Linked DNA regions of Homo sapiens: regions 2 and 3 are each linked to region 1. The links are contacts of gene promoters, found by promoter capture Hi-C in human tissues and cell types (Jung and others, 2019). All regions are on one chromosome and are shown on one strand. Each heading gives the region's core, a stretch centred on a gene start or on the middle of the fragment in contact. The rest is flanking DNA. Distances are from core to core; before and after follow the strand shown. Region 1 holds the start of ALDH3A1 (aldehyde dehydrogenase 3 family member A1). Region 2 has its middle 14 kb from the start of ALDH3A2. Region 3 overlaps ULK2 (unc-51 like autophagy activating kinase 2).

Region 1 (3,940 bases), core at 672-3,171:
GGAGGGCCGCTGCCACAAGAAGTCAGCTCCGAATGGCCTTCGGCCTTGCATTCTGCCCTCTACTCAAGATCCAAATTCCCAGGAGAGTCAGGGAGGCCTCATGGGGAGCCCACCCCAACCCATGGCTGGCCTGGAGAAGGCACCTGGTTGATCATCTCACCAAGTAGGAAGGGGTTGCCTGCAAAGATAATCAGCTGCTGCCACCAGAAAAGGGGAGAGGCTGGCACAGGCTCGGTCTTCTCCCCTCTCAGGAGGCACCCCACTTTGCACCTACCACCCAGTCCAGCCCCTGCACAGGTGCGAGGTCCTGCAGATGCTTCTTTCTGCTGTTTCTGGAATGTTTCCCATTCTGTTAGTCTTATTTGGGGGTCTCGTCATTTCTTGCCTGCATTGCTGGAAGCTGCAGCCTTTGGGCTAGACCTTTCTCACACTGTGCCCTGTCCAGGGGGTTCTCTAAAACAAAAAATAGCAGACATTTGTCTGTCTGATAATCTCCTCAGCGCCCTGCACCCCCACAGCCAGCCTGGCCCACAGGCCTCCGTGAGCCCCCGCCCCAGGAGAGTCATTCACCTCCACACCTCCTGCTGGCAACAGTGGACACATCGCACTTTTTCGTGACATAACGTTCCCAGCCTCTGTGCCTTTGCTTCTGCTCTTCCAGCCCCCTTGCTGTTCCTTGCCCAAATGCTTCTCACTCAGCTCAGATGATGTTCCCTCCCACGGACTCTCACCCCAGCCCCTCTAGCATCCTCTGCCTACCTGGTTACTACAGTGTTCACATTATTTTGAAATTTCCTGTTTATTTTGTCAGTCAATAAATATTTATTGAGCATCTACTATAAATGCTGTATGGAGGTTACAGCAGTGAACAAATCAAATTCTAGCTGTCAGGAGTTAAGGGACAGGTAGCAAACAAGATATAAACGCTCCAGAGAAAAAATAATGGAGGAAGACGACAGCATTGTGCTATTTTCCACAGCACATTGGAGCGTAGCCGTGTGGGTGGATGTAGGGGAAGGGGGCTCCAGGTGGAGAGAAGCAGGAGGGCCAGAGCACATCCTCAGGACTCGTAGGCCAGGACCGGAACCTTGTGTTTTCCTCGAATGAAATGGGAAGCAGGGACCCCATGCTGGTAAGCAGTCTGCCTGCAGGCGGGTGAGGGTGGCGGGAAGCGCCTGGTGAGAGGGGCCGAGAGTCTGTTCCACACCTGCCTCCTCCCCACAGCGTGGTGCAGAGCAGGAGCCCAGCGAACATTGATCAGACAGCGTGGGAACGGCTTTTCCAGACTCCTTCCTTCCCAAGCATCTCTGGTTTTCGGTGACCACACAGACCCTTGGCCCTCTTCTCAGCTATTCAACGAGAGAGCAGATTTATGGATTGGAGACCCCCATCAAAAGTCCCCAGCCTGTGGCTCCCCAGGGTTAGGATCTCTGACTCAATGGGGCCCTGTGCACACTGGGGGATGTGAAGGGCCCGGGGCAGCGGTGGCTGGGGGTGCGTTTCGGGGGAGCTGCATGCTCTCACTGTGGTTCGTGGCTGAGCCCTGCCGATCTTATGTAACCAGAGAACTCAGAGAACCGCATCTGGCAGCGGCAAGTCTGGAAAGCTGGAAGAGCTCCATGCCAGGCTGAATCAATCAGCAGCCCCCACGCCCAGGGCAAACATAGGCTCTTTTGAAGATTGGAGATGTGCCCTGCCCAAGCCTTCAGAAACATTCTCGCATTTCAGAAGTGAACAAAAGCAAACAGCCCGGGACCTAATCCCCAAAACCTGGGCTGTAGGGAGCAGAGGTCCAGAGGACGCCACACCCCACATTTGAATATTTTTTTTTCTTGTCACGCAAACTTCCTGGGCAGGAACTCCAAGGGCTCAATGGACGGGAAGCAGGGTCCTTAAATACGTCCCCTCTTGGCTCTTGCCGTTCCAGGAGCCCCAGTTACCGGGAGAGGCTGTGTCAAAGGTAATCCTCTTCCCTGCATTCCTTATTTTTTCTCTTGTCTAGGTGGAGTCTGCACTCAGAGCCGGGGCCCTAAGTGTCAAGAGTCCTACATCATCTCTCCAGGGGGTCCCTGCCTCTGGGACCATCATCTCTGGAGCATCCTCCTGGACCTCTGGCAGCTCTGCCATCCCCCAAACCAGGAGGCAGAGGTCCCAGGGATCCGCGGAGCAGGGACACCAAGGTGGCCGTGGAGTGAGAGGCCCTGATGGGCCGTCAGACTCCATGACTGGAAGGAAGGCAGCAGAGCCGAGTGCTAAAGGCATGAGCTGCTGACAGAGATGCATGTGGGTTCAAACCCTGACATGCCACCTGCTAACTGTGAGATCAGATACAGCATTAAACGTTTCTCAGTCTCCCTTTCCTCATCTGTAAAATGCACTCATAACCGTTTCTTCTTCATGGGCATCACTACAGAGCTTTTGTGAGGATGGAAGGCAATGAGGAGGGGAGGAGGTGTCACTGGGGGGCAAAGTCAACACTGGCACAGGTGAGAGGAGCGGGGTGCAGGAATGTGGGGTGTGAGGCGACGGGCTCTGGGGAGGCCCCCAGTGCATGCTGCAGCAGCTCCCATTTGGGTGCAGCTGCGACGTGATGGTGTCCACTCATCTCTGTGAAGTGGCACCTTTGTTAACCTGTCTCTCGGGGAAGTCCTGGGAAGGCCGTCCAGCCCAGAGACCACAGTTCCAAGTGGCGATGCTGGGGTGCAAGGCCAATCCCGTCCCACGCTCACCAGGCTCTTCCCACCTGGGCTGCCTGCCTTGGTTTGACCGTACAAGGCTCGGGAGAGAAGCGGGACCTTCTCTCCTGGGTTGTGGTCAGCAGGAGGGGCCTGGCCCATGGGACTGAGGAGGTCCCAGTGAGGGGGCTTTCCCAGCCTCCTATCAGAACATAGGGAGGGACCATGGAAGGGCCAGGCTTAGAGCACCCTCAATGCCAGCAGGTCCCTCCTCCCTGTGCAGAAAGCCTGGGATTAGGGGTCAGCCTATGGGGAGGGGAGGCAGAGGAAGGATTGGAAGCCACTCGCTGGAATGTAGGCAGGACCATATATCTATATACAATATAATTATATATTACATATGATATATAGGGTTTTTTAAAAAAATGGAAATACCCTATTTCTGCTGATGTTAAAAGTTATGCCGGGTCTGCAAGTGGGCTGAGTATCTCAGGAAGGGGAGTAAGGAACTGGTAACAGTGGCCCCTCTGTGGGGCAGCACCTGACAGCTGATGGAGCAGGGAGGAGGGAGGCAGACTTTTTTCTGTGCCCCTTTGCTATATTTTACATTTTGTTTCATGAGCATGTAGTGCCTATCTTAAAACGCACCAAAATTTAAAAAATACAAGCTCATTGCAAAAAGTCAAACATTGCATAAGAGGAAAACAGATCATCAATAATTCCACCCCCATCAGTTGTCTCATCGTGTCGGGGGCTACCGTTCTAGTCCTTTCTTGCATGTTAGAGCGTGCACGCCCACACACACACGCACACGCGCGCACACACACGCACATGCACACACACGCACGCACACACACACGCACATGCACACACACGCACACACACACATGCACACACACGCACACGCACACACACACACGCACACACACACATGCACACGCCTGGTACATCTGTTGTTCTGTAACTTGTTTTCTGTTTTTCTTTCTTTCTTTCTTTCTTTTTCTTTTTTTAGATGGAGTCTCGCTGAAAGTAATTATATTACTTACCCGAGGCCTTCAAATACCGCTTCCACTGACAGCCTCTTGACTTCTAGCAAATCTCACTAACCTTGCCTTACCTCCTACCACTAATCTAATAGGAGAACTCTGTGATTATGGCTCCATTCTCCCGGTCAAAGTGCTGGAGTGCAATGGCCCAATCTCGGCCCACTGCAACCTCCTCCTCTCAGCTTGGTTCAAGCAATTCTCCTGCCTCAGCCTCCCAAG
Region 2 (3,940 bases), core at 995-3,494, 110 kb after region 1:
TCTTAGCTGGAGGTTTGTCATATATGGCTTTTATCATTTTGAGGAGCTTTCCTTCTATTCTCACTTTATTAAGTGTTTTTTTTTTTTTCAAAGAAAAGGTGTCATTATTGGTATAGTGAGATTAGTATCTGTATATGTTACCTTTTCTATTTTTTTGTTTTTTGTTTTTTGTTTTTTTGAGACGGAGTCTCACTTTGTTGCCCAGGCTGGAGTACAGTGGCGCGATCTCAGCTCACTGCAAGCTCCGCCTCCCGAGTTCACGCCATTCTCCTGCCTCAGCCTCCCAAGTAGCTGGGACTACAGGCGCCTGCCACCACGCCTGGCTAATTTTTTGTATTTTTAGTAGAGACGGGGTTTCACCTTGTTAGCCAGGATGGTCTCTATCTCCTGACCTCGTGATCTGCCCACCTCGGCCTCCCAAAGTGCTGGGATTACAGGTGTGAGCCACCACGCCCTGCCCACCTTTTCTCTTTGTTGTCCTTGTTACTTTTTTTCTTCCATTGTGGTTTTAACTGAGCATTTTATGAGATGCTATTTTCTTTCTTCTCTTAGCATATTGATTATATTACTTTTTAAAAACTTTTTCATTAGTTGTCCTGGAGTTTGCAATATGCATTTACAACTAACCTAATTCCACTTTTGAATAACACTATTCTTCTTCATGGGTAATGCAAGTGCCTTAGAATATTCTCAGTTCCTCCCTCTTGACCCTTATAACACTGTTGTCATTCATTTTAGCTATGCACAAGCTGTAATAACCAAATACATTGTTGCTATTATTTTCATATATTTTTTATCAATTAAAAATAAGAAGGATAAAATATTTTACCTTCATTTATTCCTTTTCTAGTACATAATTCCTTTCTTTATGTGTATCTGAGTTTCTGAAGTATTTCAGAAAATAGGCTTGGCATTATTAGTAGTATGTGATCTCTAGTAATCACAATGAGACACCACTTCCCACCCACTAGTATGATATAACTAAAATCAAAAAGAAAATCACAAGTGTTAGCAAGGATGTGGAGAAACTGGAAACCTCATACACTGCTGGTGGCAATGAAGAATGGTGCAGCCACCATGGGAAACATTTTGGCAGTTCCTCAAAAAAAATAGAATTATCCGCCTGTAATCCCAGCACTTTGGGAGGCCGAGGCAGGCGGATCATGAGGTCAGGAGATTGAGACCATCCTGGCTAACATGGTGAAACCCTGTCTCTACTAAAGATACAAAAAATTAGCCAGGCATCGTGGCGGGTGCCTGTAGTCCCAGCTACTCAGGAGGCTGAGGCAGAAGAATGGCGTGAACCCAGGAGGCAGAGCTTGCAGTGAGCCAAGATCGCGCCACTGCACTCCAGCCTGGGCAACAGAGCAAGACTCCATCTCAAAAAAAAAAAAAAGAAAGAAAGAAAAAAAATAGAATTATCATATAACCCAGTAATTCCACTCCTAGGTATAGACTCAAAAGAAGCGAAAACAGGTGTTCAAACAAAAACTTGTACACGAGTATTTACTACAGCATTATTCACAATTGCCAAAACATAGAAACAATCTAAAAGTCCATCAACTGATTAATAAACACCAGGTGGCATATCACACAATAAACTATTCAGCCAGAAAAAGGAATCAAGTTTTGAGAGACATGCTACAACATAGAGGAATCGCGGGCCAGGCATGGTGGCTCATGCCTGTAATCCCAGCACTTTGGGAGGCCGAGGTGGGTGGATCACGAGGCCAGGAGTTCAAGACCAGCCTAACCAACATGGTGAAACCCCGTCTCTACTAAAAATACAAAAATGAGCCGGGCATGGTGGCACGCACCTGTAGTCCCAGCTACTCAGGAGGCTGAGGCAGGAGAATTGCTTGAACCTGGGAAGTGGAGGTTGCAGTGAGCTGAGATCGTGCTACTGCACTCCAGCCTGGGTGACAGAATGAGACTCTGTTTCAAAAAAAAAAATAGAGGAATTGCAAAACCATCATGCATGCCAAGTTCAAAAAGCCAGACTCAAAAGGTCACATGTTCTATGATTCCTTCATTATGAAACATCCAAAATAGGTAAATCCACAGGCACAGACAGCAGATTAGTGGTTGCCAGGAACTCAGGGAGAGGGGTATGGGGAGTGAGAGGTTAATAATCTGAGTTTCCTTTTTGGTATGATAAAAATGTTTTGGAAGGGTTAATTTTATGTTATATGAATTTTACTTCAATAAAATCTAGGGCCAGTCACAGTGGCTCACGCCTGTAATCCCAGCACTTTGGGAGACCAAGGCAGGAGGATCTCTTGAGCTCGGAAGTTCAAGACCACCATAGGAAACATAGCGAGATTTCATCTCTACTAAAACTAAAAAAAAAAATTAGCCAGAAGTGGTGGCACACGCCTGTAGTCCCAGCTACATGGGAGGTTGAGGTGGGAGGATCGCTTCAGCCCAGGAGATCAAAGCTACAGTAGCTGTGATCATGCCACTGCTTGAGCCAGGGAGACAGAGCCAGATCCTGTCTCTAAATACATACATACATACATACATACGTACATACATAATCTTCTGGAAAAAAAACTTTTTTTTGGAGTGCAGTGGTGTGATCAGAGCTCACTGTAGCCTCGAACTCCTGGGCTCAAGTGATCTTCCCACCTCAGATCCTGAGTAGCTGGGACTACAGACGTGTGGTTTTGTTGTAGAGATGGGGTTTTGCCATGTTACCAAGGTTGGTCTTGAACTCCTAGGCTCAAGCCATCCACCTGCCTCAGCCTCCCAAAGTGCCGGGATTAGAAGTGTGTACCACCATACCTGACTGAATGTTTTATTCTATAGCATCCTATTCTATATCATAGTTGAAATATTTTGCGTTACCTCTTTGAAGATGTAAGTTTTCTCCCTATAATGCCTATTTTTTTTCTGGTTGCTTTCTCCTATAATTGGATTTTCACAAATAATCTGATAATACTGGGTTGCTTGTTAACACTCAAGAGAGGGAGACAAATAAGCTAAGGGAAGCACTGGTGACATTGGGTGCTTTCCACTGTGGGCTCCTCTCCTGGGAATCTGGTGGGCTTTGTGTGAGAGAATACCCAATATTCAGATTTTTTTAAGGATTTTCTTTTTGGGCTGGTCTAATTTCCTATAAAAGACTAAAACTCTTTTGCTTTGAGGATGAGGCCACCATAGCTGCCAGCATTCTGGGAGCTGAGTAGCAGAAGAGAACACAGCTCTTTATTTTCTACTTTATTTTCTACTTTAAATGAAAGTTGCCACAAAATTAATTAAAAGGCAAAAATGCTAAAAGTTAATCTTTTGTATTGACTGTATAGCTCCAAATATTGTCAGCATACATTGTAAATTTTAAGAGGTTCCATTTTATAAAAGCTTATATGGCAATACCTGAGATAGGACTTGAACAAGCACTTAATATACACTCACTGACAAGATTAAGTACATTCATAGAGAAATACAAAGAAAATAGATCAGCAATAATATTTTACAGGACTATGAACCACTCCCCAGGAGAAGAAAGATGTTTGAAATAAGAAAGAGTAAGTAACCTTTACATCAAGGAAAATCTAATTTGTATATTTAGAAACCATGATAAAATTAACAGGGAAAACTTTACTTAAAATTATAGCCCCTTTCTTGATCTCCAATAGGATAGTGCAATTCCTTGGAATAACCAAGGAAACATCCCTGATATTCTTTCCATCCACAGTTAAGAGTAAAAACTGTCCAAATAACAAGGTCACCTTTCATACTTAACATATGGCATATAATTATCATTTCTAGTTTGTAGAATGGTGGTAATTCTACCATTTTAGCCATGGTCATTGAAAACTCTTAATGAAAATTCCTGCTGAAAGGAAAGTGACAGCAAGAGCTAAAGCCATTCCATGATAGAATATCAGCTGCCTCACTGTCAGGACCTCTCCAGCGGTGGACATTGCATACTGGGTGT
Region 3 (3,940 bases), core at 954-3,453, 110 kb before region 1:
GGATTACAGGCCTGAGCCACCGCACTCAGCCTATACTAGTTCTTTTTAACCAGTAGTGACCTTTTTAAAAAAAATTTTTATAATCTCACACTAGGAAAATATCTTTTAAAACATTTTTAAATTATATTTACTTAATTAATAGAGATGAGGTCACTATGTTGCCCAGGCTGGTCTCGAACTGCTGGACTAAAGTGATCCTCCTGCCTTGGCTTCCTAAAGTGCTGGGATTATAGGCGTGAGCCACCATGCCCAGCCTAATTTTATTACTTTTCTTTCTTTCTTTCTTTTTTTTTGAGACGGAGTTTCACTCTGTTGCCCAGGTTGGAGTGCAGTGGCACGATCCTGGCTCACTGCAACCTCTGCCTTCTGGGCTCAAGCAGTTCTCCTGCCTCAGCCTCCCAAGTAGCTGGGATTACAGGCGCCCACCACCACAACTGGCTAATTTTTGTATTTTTAGTAGAAATGGGGTTTCACCATGTTGGCTAGGCTGGCCTCGAACTCCTGACTTCAAGTGGTCCACCTGCTTCGGCCTCCCAAAGTTCTGGGATTACAGATGTGAGCCACTGCGCCCAGCTGGTATTTTTTTTTTCTTAAACCATTAGGGTATCAGTCATCTTTTTGCTGTATTTGTCTTTTTACATTTCTTCTGTGACGTTCCCATTGCTGTCCTATGATGCATAGGTTGTGTTCATTTTTCTTACTGGTTTATTTGTGACTAGTATTTCTTGAGCTGGTTAATGAGATGTACAGGCGTATAGTGGTGAACAAAGTAGAAATGGTCCTTGTCATTGTGGAACTCTTACAGGATATTAGGGAAGATGACATTAAGCAAATAGTTACTATTTCTTTTTTTTTTCTTTTTTGAGACAGGGTCTGGCTCTCTTGCCCAGGCTGGAGTGTGGTGGCATGACCACACCTCACTGCAGCCTCCACCCTTTGGGCTTAAGCCATCCTCCCACCTCAGCCTTCAAAGTATCTGGGACTACAGGCAGGCACCACCATGCCTGGCTAATTTTTCTATTTTTTGTAGAGATGGAGTTTCACCATGTTGCTCAGCCTGGTCTCAAACTTCTGAGCTTAAGCGACCTGCCCAGCTTGGCTTCCCAAAGTGCTGGGATTACAGGCGTGAGCCACCACACCCGGGCCAATAGTTACTATTTCCAAGTGTGCCAAGTGCTGTAAGGGAGAGCTCTTGGCGAGGTTTGAACAATATGGGGCCTAGGAAAATGGGACAAGGGAAGGCTTCCTGGGGAAATGATATCTGTAGAGACTGAGGGATGGGTGGGAGAAGGCTAGGTGGGGGTTAATGGGAGAAAATAAAGTAAGTTTCCCAAGGAGATGAAGGCTTCTGTAAAGACCACTGACAGGAGAGATCACTGAGTTTGAGGAACTGGAAGAAGGCTAGTGTGTCTGGAGTACAGTAATGAGAGCGAGAGCATAGTGTTAGATGATACTGGAGAGGTTAGCAGGAGCCAGATCTGATCTTTATCTTAAGGACAGTACAAAGCTATTGAAGAGTTTTAAAAGCAGGAGAGTGATACCGTTTTTGTTTTTCAAAAGATAAATCTCCTAGAGCACTCTGAGCATGAGATAAGTACTTTCACTTAGGAATACATAACTGTGTGATTGTCAGTGGCCTGGTTAAATATCTACCTCTTGGTAATTTTTAGTATCGCAAGAAAAAGATGATTAATTTAATAGGTGGTGCTCATAAAACTGAGACATCTGACAAAAAATAGAATTGGAACACCATTCTCATCATTTTCCAAAATCATTTCCAAATGAATTAAAAGCTTAAATATATAAAGTAAACAATAACAGTCTCAGAATAATATTTAAATGACTGTACAATCCAAGGGATGGAAAGACATTTTAAATCAAGATAAGAAACTCAGAAGCTGTAGTATCAGAAGCTCTAGTAGGGACATGTAAAACATTTTTTTTTTTTTTTTTTTGAGACAGAGTCTCACTCTGTCACCCAGGCTGGAGTGCAATGCCGTGATCTTGGCCCACTGCAACCTCCACCTCCCAGGTTCAAGCAATTCTCCCTGCCTCAGCCTCCTGAGTAGCTGGGATTACAGGCGCCCCGCCACCACACCTGGCTAATGTCTGTATTTTTGGTAGAGACGAGGTTTTGCCGTATTGGCCAGCCTGGTCTCGAACTCCCGACCTCAGGTGATCTGCCCGTCTTGGCCTCCCAAAGTGTTGGGATTACAGGTGTGAGCCACCGTGCCTGGCTATAAAAAATTTTAAAACTCTTTTTTTTTTTTTTTTTTTTTTTTTTTGGAGATGGAGTCTCGCTTTGTCACCAAGGCTGGAGTGCCGTGGTGCGATCTCGGCTCACTGCAAGCTCCACCTCCTGGGTTGACACTATTCTCCCACCTCAGCCTCCCGAGTAGCTGGGACTACAGGCGCCTACCACCATGCCTGGCTAATTTTGTTTTTGTATTTTTTAGTAGAGACGGGGTTTCACCGTGTTAGCCAGGATGGTCTCGATCTCCTGACCTTGTGATCTGCCCGCCTCGGCCACCCAAAGTGCTGGGATTCCAGGCGTGAGCCACTGCACCCGGCCGTAAAACTCGTTTTATAGCAAATAATACAATGAACAAATTGACATATATAAAAAGGAACAAACGATACATGTCATAACGTGAATTTCAAACTTTTTTTTTTTTGTGTGTGTGACGGAGTCTCGCTCTGTCGCCCAGGCTAGAGTGCAGTGGCGCGATCTCGGCTCACTGCAAGCTCTGCCTCCCAGGTTCCCCTCATTCTCCTGCCTTAGCCTCCTGAGTAGCTGGGACTACAGGCACCTGCCACCATACCCGGCTAATTTTTTGTATTTTTAGTAGAGATGGGGTTTCACTGTGTTAGCCAGGATGGTCTTGATCTCCTGACCTCGTGACCCGCCTGCCTCGGCCTCCCAAAGTGCTGGGATTACAGGCGTGAGCCACCGCGCCCGGCCTCAAACATTATTTTGAGAAAAATAAGCATGCCATATACTGCTACAGTATAATTCTGTTTTTGTGAATTTTGGGAAGAGTCAGAAGTAAGCTAGGGTGATAGAAATCAGAACAGAGGTTGACTCTTGGTCCCAGGGAGTGATAGGAAAGGGGCATGAGAGAACTTCTTGGGGTGATGGAATTGTTATGTATTTTGATTGGCAGGGTAGATACGTAGGTGTAAACATTTGTCACAACACATTGAACTGTACATTTATTTTTATTTTTAAATACTTATTTAGAAATGAGGTCTTACTCTGTTACTCAGGCTGGAGTGCATTTCTTCTGTGGTGCCATCATATCTCACTGCAGCCTCTAACTCCTGGGCTCAAGCGATCTTCCTGCCTTTGCCTCCTGAGTAGCTGTGATTACAGGCCTGTGCCACCATGCTCAGTGTATACCGTTATTAAAAAGAAAGAGCTATTTATATCTGGGTAAGAAAGAATGTTGGTATCAATGGAGACAGAGGCCTGGACAGATTAGTGAGATGTTTAGGAGATAGAATTGTTAGGACTTGGGCACTTGGACTGTAGGAGGTAAACAAGAGGGAATCAGAGTTGATAGCTCTTTGTCATGTTTTGAGATATTTTTCCCATTTTGTTTGGTATTTTTGTGGGGGGGTCTTACTTTAGACTTTTTTTCCTTTTTTTTTTTTTTTTTTTTTGAGATGGAGTCTTGCTCTGTTGCCCAGGCTGGAGTGCAATGGCACAGTCTCGGCTCACTACAACCTCCGCCTCTCGGATTCAAGTGATTCTCCTGCCTTAGCTTACCCAGTAGCTGGGATTACAGGCACCTGCTACCACACCCGGCTAATTATTGTATTTTTAGTAGAGATAGGGTTTCTTTTCTTTTTTTTTTTTGAGATGGAGTTTCGCTCTGTCACCCAGGCTGGAGTGCAGTGGCGCGATCTCGGCTCACTGCAAGCTCTGCCTCCCGGGTTC

Evidence for each region. Contacts are between HindIII fragments. The study calls those that stand out against the background at their distance.
Region 2: a contact is called between a fragment that was not itself captured here and the fragment with the promoter of ALDH3A1 in region 1, in 6 of the 25 tissues and cell types used here (adrenal gland, bladder, lymphoblastoid cells and 3 more).
Region 3: a contact is called between a fragment that was not itself captured here and the fragment with the promoter of ALDH3A1 in region 1, in 7 of the 25 tissues and cell types used here (adrenal gland, aorta, bladder and 4 more).

What each region holds. Positions count from the first base shown.
Region 1 is chr17:19,746,279-19,750,218 of GRCh38, reverse strand. ALDH3A1 (aldehyde dehydrogenase 3 family member A1) reads left to right here and starts at 1,921. Exons shown (of 11, transcript NM_000691.5): 1 at 1,921-1,960. The HindIII fragment of the contact is 25,713 bases long and covers 1-3,940 here.
Region 2 is chr17:19,633,160-19,637,099 of GRCh38, reverse strand. It overlaps the pseudogene SLC47A1P2. Among named protein-coding and RNA genes, the nearest start is that of ALDH3A2, 14 kb to the left of the region's middle. The HindIII fragment of the contact is 7,870 bases long and covers 1-3,940 here.
Region 3 is chr17:19,855,323-19,859,262 of GRCh38, reverse strand. All of the region lies in intron 3 of ULK2 (unc-51 like autophagy activating kinase 2), which reads left to right. Among named protein-coding and RNA genes, the nearest start is that of TRG-CCC3-1, 3.6 kb to the left of the region's middle. The HindIII fragment of the contact is 7,474 bases long and covers 1-3,940 here.